3 separate regions of the Homo sapiens genome follow, and regions 1 and 3 are each linked to region 2. Evidence: promoter capture Hi-C in 16 types of primary human blood cells and fetal thymus (Javierre and others, 2016). All regions are on one chromosome and are shown on one strand. The core of a region is centred on a gene start or on the middle of the fragment in contact, and the rest is flanking DNA. Distances in the headings are between cores, read along the strand shown. Region 1 overlaps TOP6BL (TOP6B like initiator of meiotic double strand breaks). Region 2 holds the start of ZDHHC24 (zDHHC palmitoyltransferase 24). Region 3 overlaps TOP6BL (TOP6B like initiator of meiotic double strand breaks).

Region 1 (3,304 bases), core at 442-2,941, 270 kb after region 2:
CTTACACATCTGGTAATTTAAGACTAGCCTCTGAAGAAGATGCACAGTGAGGGAAGGTAGATATAGACATAGTGATAATTTTACCTTCTCTTCCCCCTTTTCTTTCTCATATCCTTAAAAGCTTTCTCTAGAGCCTCTTTTTTAGGAAACAGATGGTGCAAAGTTAGTCTGTTTCCATGTGTCTTTAAGAAAATTACTTAATTGGCCTTATGCCCACCTACCTTGTCATGGTAACTTTTCTGTGATTAACTCATTTTTTTTTTCTTGTGACTAACTCATTATTTTCCCCAATGTCAAAAGCATTTGGTGGTCAAAAGTTTTAGGAATGAACTTTGACTTTTAAATTAAATGTCTGCTTTCAAAAGAGATCTGATTTCTTGAAGCTGTTCTTAAAACCAAACTATGGAAAATACCAATCTAGATGATACATTAACATAGCAATAGCAATATTTTGAAACTGTACAGTGTACATTTCAAAACACTTCATGGGCTAGGCACTGTGGCTTGGCTCCTGTAATCCCAATACTTTGAGGGGCCAAAGCAGGAGGACCGCTTGAGCCCAAGAGTTCAAGACCAGCTCGGGCAACACAGCGAGACCTCGTCTCTACATATACAAATTTGCCCGGGCATGGTCCCTCACACCTGTAATCCCAGCACTTTGGGAGGCCGAGGCGGGCGGATCACACTGAGGTCAGGAGTTTGAGACCAGTCTGGCCAACATGGCGAAACCCCGTCTCTACTAAAAATACAAAAATTAGCTGGGTGTGGTGGCAGGCGCCTGTAATCCCAGCTACTCGGGAGGCTGAGGCAAGATAATCACTTGAATCCAGGAGGCGGAGGTTGCAGTGAGCCGAGATCACGCCATTGCACTCCAGCTCGGGCAACAAGAGCAAAACTCTTGTCTTAAAAAAAAAAAAAAAAAAAAAATTGGCCAGGCATGGTGGTGGTGTACACCTGTGGTCCCAGCTATTCGGGAGGCTGAGGTGGGAGGATCACTTGAGCCCCGGTGGTCGAGGCTGCAGTGAGCCAAGATCGTGTCACTGCACTCCAGGCTGGGCAACAAAACCCACAAAACACTTTGTGTACATTATCGCAGTTTATCTACACAACATACCTGTGAGAGCAGGTGGTATAAAGCCATTTTCTATACTGAAGAAAAGATTTCATCACCACTAGTTGATGGCAGAATTGGCCCTAGAATCTATGTTCTCCCTGACTCCAGCTCCAGAATCCTTTTGAGCTTACCATATATTACGTTCCCTACCAGGAAAGGATCATGGTGCCTTGTGGTAGAAAATGTTCTTCTGGTTTGCATTTTTAATACAGTCCTGGAAAAAGCCAGCCAGTTTTAGGCTGCTTCCCATAGAATTCTGAACACTGAAAACAAAGAATAATCAAGAAGGATTTTCTCCAGGTGACCTGTAAATTTGGCTTCCTGTGCCTGCTGCATCGGGATCATTAAATGGTGGCCTATTGTTTGATGGCATAGTTTTTTTGCCTGTTGCTCTCACATATTAGCTTTTCTGAATGAGACTGAGCAGTGGTGCCTGTGGTTACTTTAACAGAGATAATCTCCCATTTAAAAGGACCTCATACCAACAGTTCTGTGTCATCTCTGTGAATTTTAACCTTTTCTTTACCACAGTACGTCTGAAAGCACTGCCACAACAGTGATGTTCACATAGACGTAGAGTAGGGTTAGACACACTCTATAGGACCTTTGCTTCTCCCTTTCTCCTCTCCTTTGGGAGTCACTGGGATTGTTGTTTATAGTACATGGTATATATTTCTGCTATGAATTAAACAGGATCCCTTATTTGTTTCTTTAAAAAATAATGTCATTCTCCACCTTAATTTTCCTGAGCTTTCTTAGATTTATGAGTGGGAATTAGGTAGGTGTGTAAGTTGCTGGGAGATTTTGTCTAAAAAAAGGTAATTATTTGTGGATATGTAGGGGTCTCTTCTTCCAAGAGGCATCTTTCCCACTCCCAGTCCTGACTCAAAGCACATGAACAGCAATCTTGAAGTAGTTATCCTCGCTCATGGTTAATCCTTGGATAATGCAAGCCTGATACCATGTTCTGAGCCCTACTGAACATTTCTAAAGAACTCGGATTCCTCAGAAACCAGTGTTATCATTCCTGAACTACTGTGATAATTTGTACACCTCTGTTTAGCTTGATTCTGAGGGCCTGCAGTATCTCAGTCGTTGTACTCAGTATTGGATTTAAAAGAAATTCATCAGTGTATTAGTAAACAAGTGTCTTAAATCTTACACATCTGGTAATTTTTTTTTTTTTTTTTTTGAGACGGAGTCTCACTCTGTCACCCAGGCTGGAGCGCAGTGGCACAATCTTGGCTCACTGCAAGCTCCGCCTCCCGGGTTCACGCCATTCTCCTGCCTCAGCCTCCCGAGTAGCTGGGACTACAGGTGCCCGCCACCGTGCTTGGCTAATTTTTTGTATTTTTAGTGGAGACGGGGTTTCACCGTGGTCTCGATCTCCTGACCTCGTGATCCGCCCGCCTCGGCCTCCCAAAGTGCTGGGATTACAGGCCACATCTGGTAATTTAAGACTAGCTTTTGCAGATGCACAGTGAGGGGAGGTAGATATAGTGATAATTTTACCTTCTCCCTCCCCTTAGGAGTCTATACTTTGCTCACAACTCATCTCAATGCCATCCTTGTGGAGAGCCACAGTGTAGTGCAAGGTTCCATCCAATTCACTGTGGACAAGGTCTTGGAGCAACATCACCAGGCTGCCAAGGTAATAAGGAATTCACAGCCTCTTTTCTCCTATTCTCTAAGAAAAAGATAGCAAGCATATATGGCAGGCAGGGCCCAGGAGCCCTTCCTCCCTTAATGCCCCTTCCTCTCCTCTTCTGTCACCTGGGTGATCTTGTAACACTGCATCTAGCCTACAACTCAAACTTTAGCTTAGATGGATCACTGTAACCAGCTTGCTTAGTCTTACCTCCTAGTAGGTGTGTTTGGGTAAATAGGGAAATAGTTAATAGGGAAAAATGGCTGATAACACACCTCTTCCTTATGCATATAATTCCCCTTCCCACACAGACTTCTGGAGCTGCTGTTTCGCTGTGTCTTACATTCTTCCCCCATTTTCCTAATTCTTTACACCACCACTTTCTCTCCTTACCTGATTTTCTACATCCATCCATCCTGTGTACTTTTGGTAACACATTTCTTACCTCATATGGCCCCCTTTTCAGGGAAAAAACAACCACACTAAGAGAGCAGAACTAAAAGCTTTTTTTTTTTTTCCCAAATAGTGTGTCTGTTTTCTTG
Region 2 (3,349 bases), core at 373-2,872:
AAAAGCAAAGCCTTCAGTGTCCTACAACATCCTTCTATCTGTGACATCTCTTCCCCTCTCTTACTGCACTCCAGCCACACTGGCCTTCTTGCTGTTCTGGGAACATACATGCTGGGTACACAACTGCCTCAGAGCCTTTGCACCACTTGTTACCTCTGCCTGGAACACCTTTCCCTCAGATTCCCACATGGCTAACCGCCCCCCACGCCCTCCAAGTTTTTTGCTCAAATGCCTCCTTCTCTATGAGGTCTACCTTGACCACACATTTATGTATATTATTTTAAAAATTAATTAAAAAAAATTTTTAGGGACAGAGTCTCGCTACATTACCCAGGCTGGAGTGTAGTGGTTGTTCACAGGTGTGATCATAGCACACTACAGCCTCAGTCTCAGCAAAAGCCTCTGCCTGGCATAAAATGTGTGTGTAGAGCCTGTACCTGGTGTAATTTTTTTTTCTAATTATAAATTGACAAATTCCAGTTGTATATACTTATGGGATACCAAGTGATGTTATGATTTATCAGTACAGCTTGGAATAAATCAAGCTAATTAGGATAGCCATTACCTCAAACACTCATATTTTTGTGATGAGAATTTACCACCTGTTTATTTATGTATTTATTTATTTGAGACGGAGGGAGTCTTGCTCTGTCACCCAGGCTGGAGTGCAGTGGCTCGATCTCGGCTCACTGCAACCTCCGCCTCCCAGGTTCAAACAATTCTCTTGCCTCAGCCTCCCCAGTAGCTGAGATTACAGGCACGTGCCGCCATGCCCGACTAATTTTTTTATATTTTTAGTAGAGACGGGGTTTCACCACGTTGGCTAGGCTGGTAAACTTCTGACCTTAAGTGATCCGCCGGCCTCGGCCTCCCAAAGTGCTGGGATTACAGATGTGAGCCAACGCACCCGGCCTAACCACCTATTTAATATTGAAACTTGCAACCCCTTTACCCTGCTCTACTTCTTGTTTCCAAACTACTATCACCTTCTAGCATTCTATATGATTTGCTTATTATTCCTCTAGTTTCTCATCTGCACCCCCCTCAAATCAGGAATTTGTTCTATTGTACCCTTCGTCCCTGTAACAAAACCTTGCACCTAGTAGGCTCCCAATAAGTATTTGCGAGTAAATAAATAACACTCAATTCTAGCTCTTCCATCCCAGGTTCTAAAAAAATGTCTGATTCTAACAACCTGGATCCTAATGTAACCCGGTTCTAACATCTCAGGTCTTGGGGCCCCTCCCCCCTGTCCAAGGCTCCCACTTCTCCCCGCCCGATCCCGCACCCCACTCACGCCCAGCCCTGGCCCAGACCGCGGCCGGCCAGCATCACGCCACGGATGCTGGGATCCGAGCGCAGGAAGAGCCCCACGTTGCCCAGCAGGTTGAGCAGCTGGAAGGCGGCCAGCGCCAGCTGCAAGGCCCGGGCCAGGGGTCCCAGCGGCGGCGGCCCGGGACCGAGCACCAGCACGTAAGCCAGCTCCAGGCCCACGGCCGCGGCCCACAGCGCGGTGAGCACGAGAGGCAGCTGCGCGGGCGCCCCGTCCGTGCTCCCAGCCGCCCAGGGCTGCCCCATGGCCTGGACACCCAGCTGTCGGAGCCGGAGGACTAGGCCGCTTCCGTATTGGGGCGGAGATAGCGGCAGACGGACGTCTGCTACGGCCAATAGAAGCTCGGAAGGGGGTGCGGCGAGCGCTCAGACTCTCAGGGAACGGCCGGCCCACGCGGCGAGTTGATCTGGCCAACGGACCAGCAGTGGAGGCGCTCGGAATCCCGCGGCGCTGGAGCCCGGATAACGCCGCGGAGTGATTGACCCGCCCACCCTGGAGGCTCCTCCCATCCCGTCGGAGCCCCGCCCGCTGGCGCGGGGGCCAGGAGTGCCCGGGGGATTGAGTTGCAGCCGGGGTGGTGTCGGGGTTTCCCGGCTCAGCACATTCTCCCCTACTCCCCACAGCCGCCCCGATATTAATAGCCCTGCCGCAGCCCATCCAGCTGGCTCAGAGCCGTTCCCCATGCCCGGGTGTCTCCATCACCCCAGAAAACATGCAAAACAGCTCGGCGCCTCTGTGTTCCTGACTGTGAAATGGGGATAGGGCTCTGTGTCCCACCAGCGAGGTGCTGGAAGAGGCTCACGAGGAGCTCCAGAGGGCAGCCTCTAGAGCGGCCCGCGGCCACTATTATTATCGGCCTTTCTATTGTGGAGAGGAGTAAACAGACTCAGAGAGGTCCCGTGGATTTCTCAAGGTCACACAGCGCCCCAGCAGCGGAGCAGGAATGCAAACCCAGGATCTCCGCCGCGAGATCCACCCCGGCGCCCCCGAGTCCCGCAGTTCCCGGCTTCAGGACAACCCCTTGCCAGGTCCAACCCGAGCTCCTTCACCCCCATCCGGCCCCTCCCTCCTCCCCCATATTTAGTGCGAATTCGATCTGGGGCTGGGCTGGGCCCTACTTAATGGGGCCCGGGTGTCCGAGAGCGTGCCGAGCGGAGCGAAGCCAGGAGCCCGATCGAGATGATGATGGTTATGCAGCCCGAGGGTCTGGGGGCCGGGGAGGGGCGCTTTGCGGGCGGCGGCGGGGGCGGCGAGTACATGGAACAGGAGGAGGACTGGGACCGCGACCTGCTGCTGGACCCGGCCTGGGAGAAGCAGCAGCGGAAAGTGAGTGCTCGCCCATTTCCTGACAGCAAAACCGAGGCCTGAGAGGCCGGGCTGTTTGTCCTGGGCATCTCAGCAGTGCAGGGGCAGAGCTTGTCTTTAACCTAGAGTGCTAATCCCCAGCCCAGGCTCTGCCCATCAGCTGCCTGCTGTCCCCAGGGCTGGAGGAGAGGGCTGGGAGCCCTCAAGAGGGGTTTAAAATGACAAGAGAGTTTCTGGGCTCCCCACCCCCACCAGGGTTCATTCCCCTGGGCCCACTGCCCCACTTCTGCTGCTGAAAACAGGCTGGGCAAACCCCAGGAGATCCAAGTTAGGGGGGGTTCAGAAAGAAGAATCTTCTTCTAGTTAAATATTCCCAGACCCCACCCTGAAGGCTTGCAGTCAGGCAACTAGTGGACTTGGGAGTGTGGGGGTAGTGAGAAGGGTCCTCTCAGACCCCACCCCACCTCGTCTCCAGGGTGGGGTCCATAGTCGCTGTATCTCATTTAACAATTGAAGAAACTGAAGCCCAGAAAGAGCACAGACAGGCCCCACATCACAGACTGTCAGACATCAGGACCCCCGCAACCTGAGGATCTTTACCCTTTTCCCTACCCCCATTCTTTCCCAAGATACCCCAGGCATGGGGCCCTGAGTCTGCTGAAAAGGCCATAGGTCGGGGAGGAGGGGAGACCTGGGTCCCCTTACGCTGTA
Region 3 (3,432 bases), core at 476-2,975, 260 kb after region 2:
GCTTAAGATGATGCTATGGCTCTGCAATTTTTCTCAGCTATTATTGTCCTATTTCCAAAAGGTTCACAGTTTGATATCTTGACCCAAAGTCACCTTGAAACTAATTTTCTGACACCCCCACATTTTATTATTTTAGTAGATTCATCCCTGTCTCTAGAGGGGGTAAACTTAAAGATTGCCATTTTCCCCTTGGTTAATTAGTTACTGAATTCTAGTAATCGCTGGGGTGGTAGTAGTCATGGGCCAAAATTTATGTCAAACAGAGATTGATTTTAGAATCTTTGAGAGATGGCTTAGCTTTGCTTTGCTTTGCAGGGTGGAGAATGAACCCACTTTGAACCTTGGGAATGGAATTGCTCTTTTGGTCGACTCCCAGCATTATGTGAGGTGAAGGCGTAAAGCCTTGTTGTCCCTCTGCATGTTTTACTCTCCTCTCGAGTACGAATGTGGGTAGAAATTGGAAATTGTCTCACTTGTCATTTGTAAGTGCCAGGTGTCAGCTTCTCTATAAGAAAAGCAGAAGTAAAACTTTTTTTTATGTTGAAAACTGCTATTTTAAGTTATTTATGTATTTGAATCTATTCTAAATGACCTGAAGACATGTGCCTTCTTCTCTTCAGGCCTTATTTTACACAGACCCTGCTAGTTCCAATCCCATTTAGGCATGAGAAGAGAAGACTATGAATTTAAAACTTTACTTGAATTCTTGGCTAGAGAGATAGTATGAATACAAAGGAATTCAGTGTACATTATTTTCTGTGCATCAGCATTTTGCATAGGTTTGGAAATCATCTCTCTGCCCATCTCCATCTTCTTCAGACTCCAAGAAAGTAAATCTGGCCAGGCGCAGTGGCTCATGCCTATAATCCCAGCACTTTGGGAGGCTGAAGTTGATGGATCACTTGAGGTTAAGAGTTTGAGACCAGCCTGGCCAACATGGCAAAACCCTGTCTCTGCTAAAAATACAAAAATTAGCTGGGCATGGTAGCACATGCCTGTAATCCCAGCTACTTGGGAGGCCAAAGCATGAGAATCACTTGAACCCAGGAGGTGGAGGTTGCAGTGAGCCGAGATCACGCCACTGCACTCCAGCGACAGAGCAAGACTCTGTCTCAAAAAAAATAAATAAATAAAAAATGTAAAAAATCCATGGAGGAGGTGGTAAACAATATGGAACACACAGAGCCCTTCTGTCTTGCCTTCCTGTGCCATTTAACTACCACAGAATCCAAAGTGAAAATGAATTATGTCAAGAAAAGACCTAACATATGCTTAAGTCCAATTAATTTATTTTTTCTTTTTTTGAGACAGGGTCTCAGTCTGTTCAACCCAGATGCCATCATAGCTCACTGCAGCCTTGGTCTCCTGGGCTCAAGTCATTTTCCCACCTCAGCCTCTCGAGTAGCTAGTAGCTAGGACCACAGAAATATGCTACCATACGCTGCTAATTTTTTTTTTTTTTGAGACGGAGTCTCGCTCTTTCGCCCAGGCTGGAGTGCAGATCTCACCTCACTGCAACCTCCACCTCCCTGGTTCAAGCGATTCTCCTGCCTCAATCTCCTGAGTAGCTGGGACTATAGGTGCATGCCACCACGCCCAGCTAATTTTTTTGTATTTTTAGTAGAAATGGGGTTTCACCATGTTGGCCAGGATGGTCTCAATCTCCTGACCTCGTGATCCTCCTGCCTCGGTCTCCCAAAGTGCTGAGATTACAGGCATGAGCCACTGCGCCCAGCCCATATACTGCTAATTTAAAAAAAATTTTTTTTTGTAGAGATGAGGTTGTTGCCTAGGCTGGTGTCAAACTCCTGGACTCAAGCAATCCTCCTGCCTCGGCCTTTCAAAGAGCTGGGATTACAGATGTGAGCCAATGTGTCCAGCCCTAATTTAGTCTTTATTCATTAGTTTCTGCCTCTATTTATGTGCCCAGAGGCAACACTAGTAGTCAAAGTCTCTTAAGGCTTAAAGAGACTGCCTGTGGTTCTTAGTCTGTTTTCTTATTCTCACCCAAAATTACACCTCAGATGAGAATATTTTTGTCATTTAATATGCAGGTAATAATTTCCCCACCCCATATCTTTCTTTAGTGATCCTCTAATAATAAACAATCCTTACAGGTAGCAGCTCATCATCATAGTTGTACTGACACAAGTTTAAGCCTTTGAGCCAATTTTTGTAGATGTGTTTCCTTGGATGACCTGATTAGAGACAAAGGGAAAGGTTCATTAATATTTCCTCTCTATTAATTAATTCATTCATTCTTAATCAGCTTTCTCAGGTTGACTGTTTTCTCTCTGTTTAGAAAAGAGCTATTGGAAAGTAACAAAATTTTACTAGATTCTTTCTAGGAGAGAAAGATGGCCTGGTTTTTTCTCATTGTTACTATCAAACAGCAACCTCAGACCTCTTCAGCGGAAGGTGTAGCATGCGTGAGAGCAGACTTATAAGTATCATGGGGCCAGTTTTAGGCCATTTGTGATTCATGGGCCCCCTCACACAATGCTGACCTTTGAATGAATTTGGAAATTTGCTCAGAACCAAAGATTAATTTTAGTGGAGGAAGTATACTTGAGAATAAGAAACAGGCTGGTCATGATATCTCACACCTGTAGTCCCAGCACTTTGGGAGGCCAAGGCAGAAAGATTGCTTGAGGCCAGGAGTTTGAGACCAGCCTAATAAACATAGTGAGACCCCATCTCTAATAAAATAAAATAATAGTAATTATTTTTCGAGACAAAGTCTCGCTCTGTTGCTCAGGCTGGAGTGCAGTGGCGCAATATCAGCTCACTGCAACCTCCGCTTCCCAGGTTCAAGCGATTCTCCTGCCTCAGCCTCCTGAATAGCTGGGATTACAGGTGTGCACCATCATGCACAGCTATTGTATCTTTAGTAGAGATGGAGTTTCACCATGTTGGCCAGGTTGGTCTTGAACTCCTGACCTCAAGTGATCCACCCACCTCAGCCTCCCAAAGTGCTGGGATTACAGGCATGAGCCACAATGCCTGGTCTAAAATGTTTTTTTAAAAAGAGAAACTAAGAAGCATCCGTTAGTGGCAGCAAAAGCAGGAGCAATGATATCTCTGAAATGCCAGTTTTTCTACTACTTCCATTGCTGTGATTCCCTGAGTGAGACATAAGTTATTTATTCCAACAAAACTGATATGGCAGGTTGTGTGGTTGTACATATGCTAGAGGTTACAAAAATAATTTTGAATGCTCTTTTAAATAATTTCTTAAGAGGAAAAAATGTTAAATTTGACTTGTCTGTTTTCTGACAGTAGACCAAATTTTGGTACAATTGAATCACACTGCAGCAGAATTCACCCTGTGCTAGGACATCCAGTAATGCTTTTCATCCCTGAAGACGTGGCTGGCATGGACTTGTTGGGAGAACTGATACTGACTCCAGCAGCTGCACTGTGCCCCAGCCC

What was found. Contacts are between HindIII fragments. The CHiCAGO score rates a contact against its expected background, and 5 or more counts as called.
Region 1: a contact is called between a fragment that was not itself captured here and the fragment with the promoter of ZDHHC24 in region 2, in 1 of 17 cell types (M1 macrophages). The highest score is 6.2, in M1 macrophages.
Region 3: a fragment that was not itself captured here is called in contact with the fragment with the promoter of ZDHHC24 in region 2 in 2 of 17 cell types (M2 macrophages and M1 macrophages); the score reaches 6.9 in M2 macrophages.

The regions. Positions count from the first base shown.
Region 1 is chr11:66,819,000-66,822,303 of GRCh38, forward strand. TOP6BL (TOP6B like initiator of meiotic double strand breaks) reads left to right here. Exons shown (of 15, transcript NM_001302084.2): 10 at 2,644-2,765. Among named protein-coding and RNA genes, the nearest start is that of RCE1, 23 kb to the right of the region's middle. The HindIII fragment of the contact is 3,144 bases long and covers 120-3,263 here.
Region 2 is chr11:66,544,426-66,547,774 of GRCh38, forward strand. ZDHHC24 (zDHHC palmitoyltransferase 24) reads right to left here and starts at 1,623. Exons shown (of 3, transcript NM_207340.3): 1 at 1,298-1,623. The coding sequence starts at 1,578. It overlaps ACTN3 (actinin alpha 3), which reads left to right and starts at 2,478. Exons shown (of 21, transcript NM_001104.4): 1 at 2,478-2,659. The coding sequence starts at 2,513. RefSeq lists enhancers at 788-897, 2,046-2,105, 2,176-2,225 and silencers at 1,376-1,615, 1,796-1,925. The HindIII fragment of the contact is 15,014 bases long and covers 1-3,349 here.
Region 3 is chr11:66,800,716-66,804,147 of GRCh38, forward strand. It overlaps TOP6BL (TOP6B like initiator of meiotic double strand breaks), which reads left to right. Exons shown (of 15, transcript NM_001302084.2): 6 at 316-387; 7 at 3,280-3,432. Among named protein-coding and RNA genes, the nearest start is that of RCE1, 41 kb to the right of the region's middle. The HindIII fragment of the contact is 3,787 bases long and covers 1-3,432 here.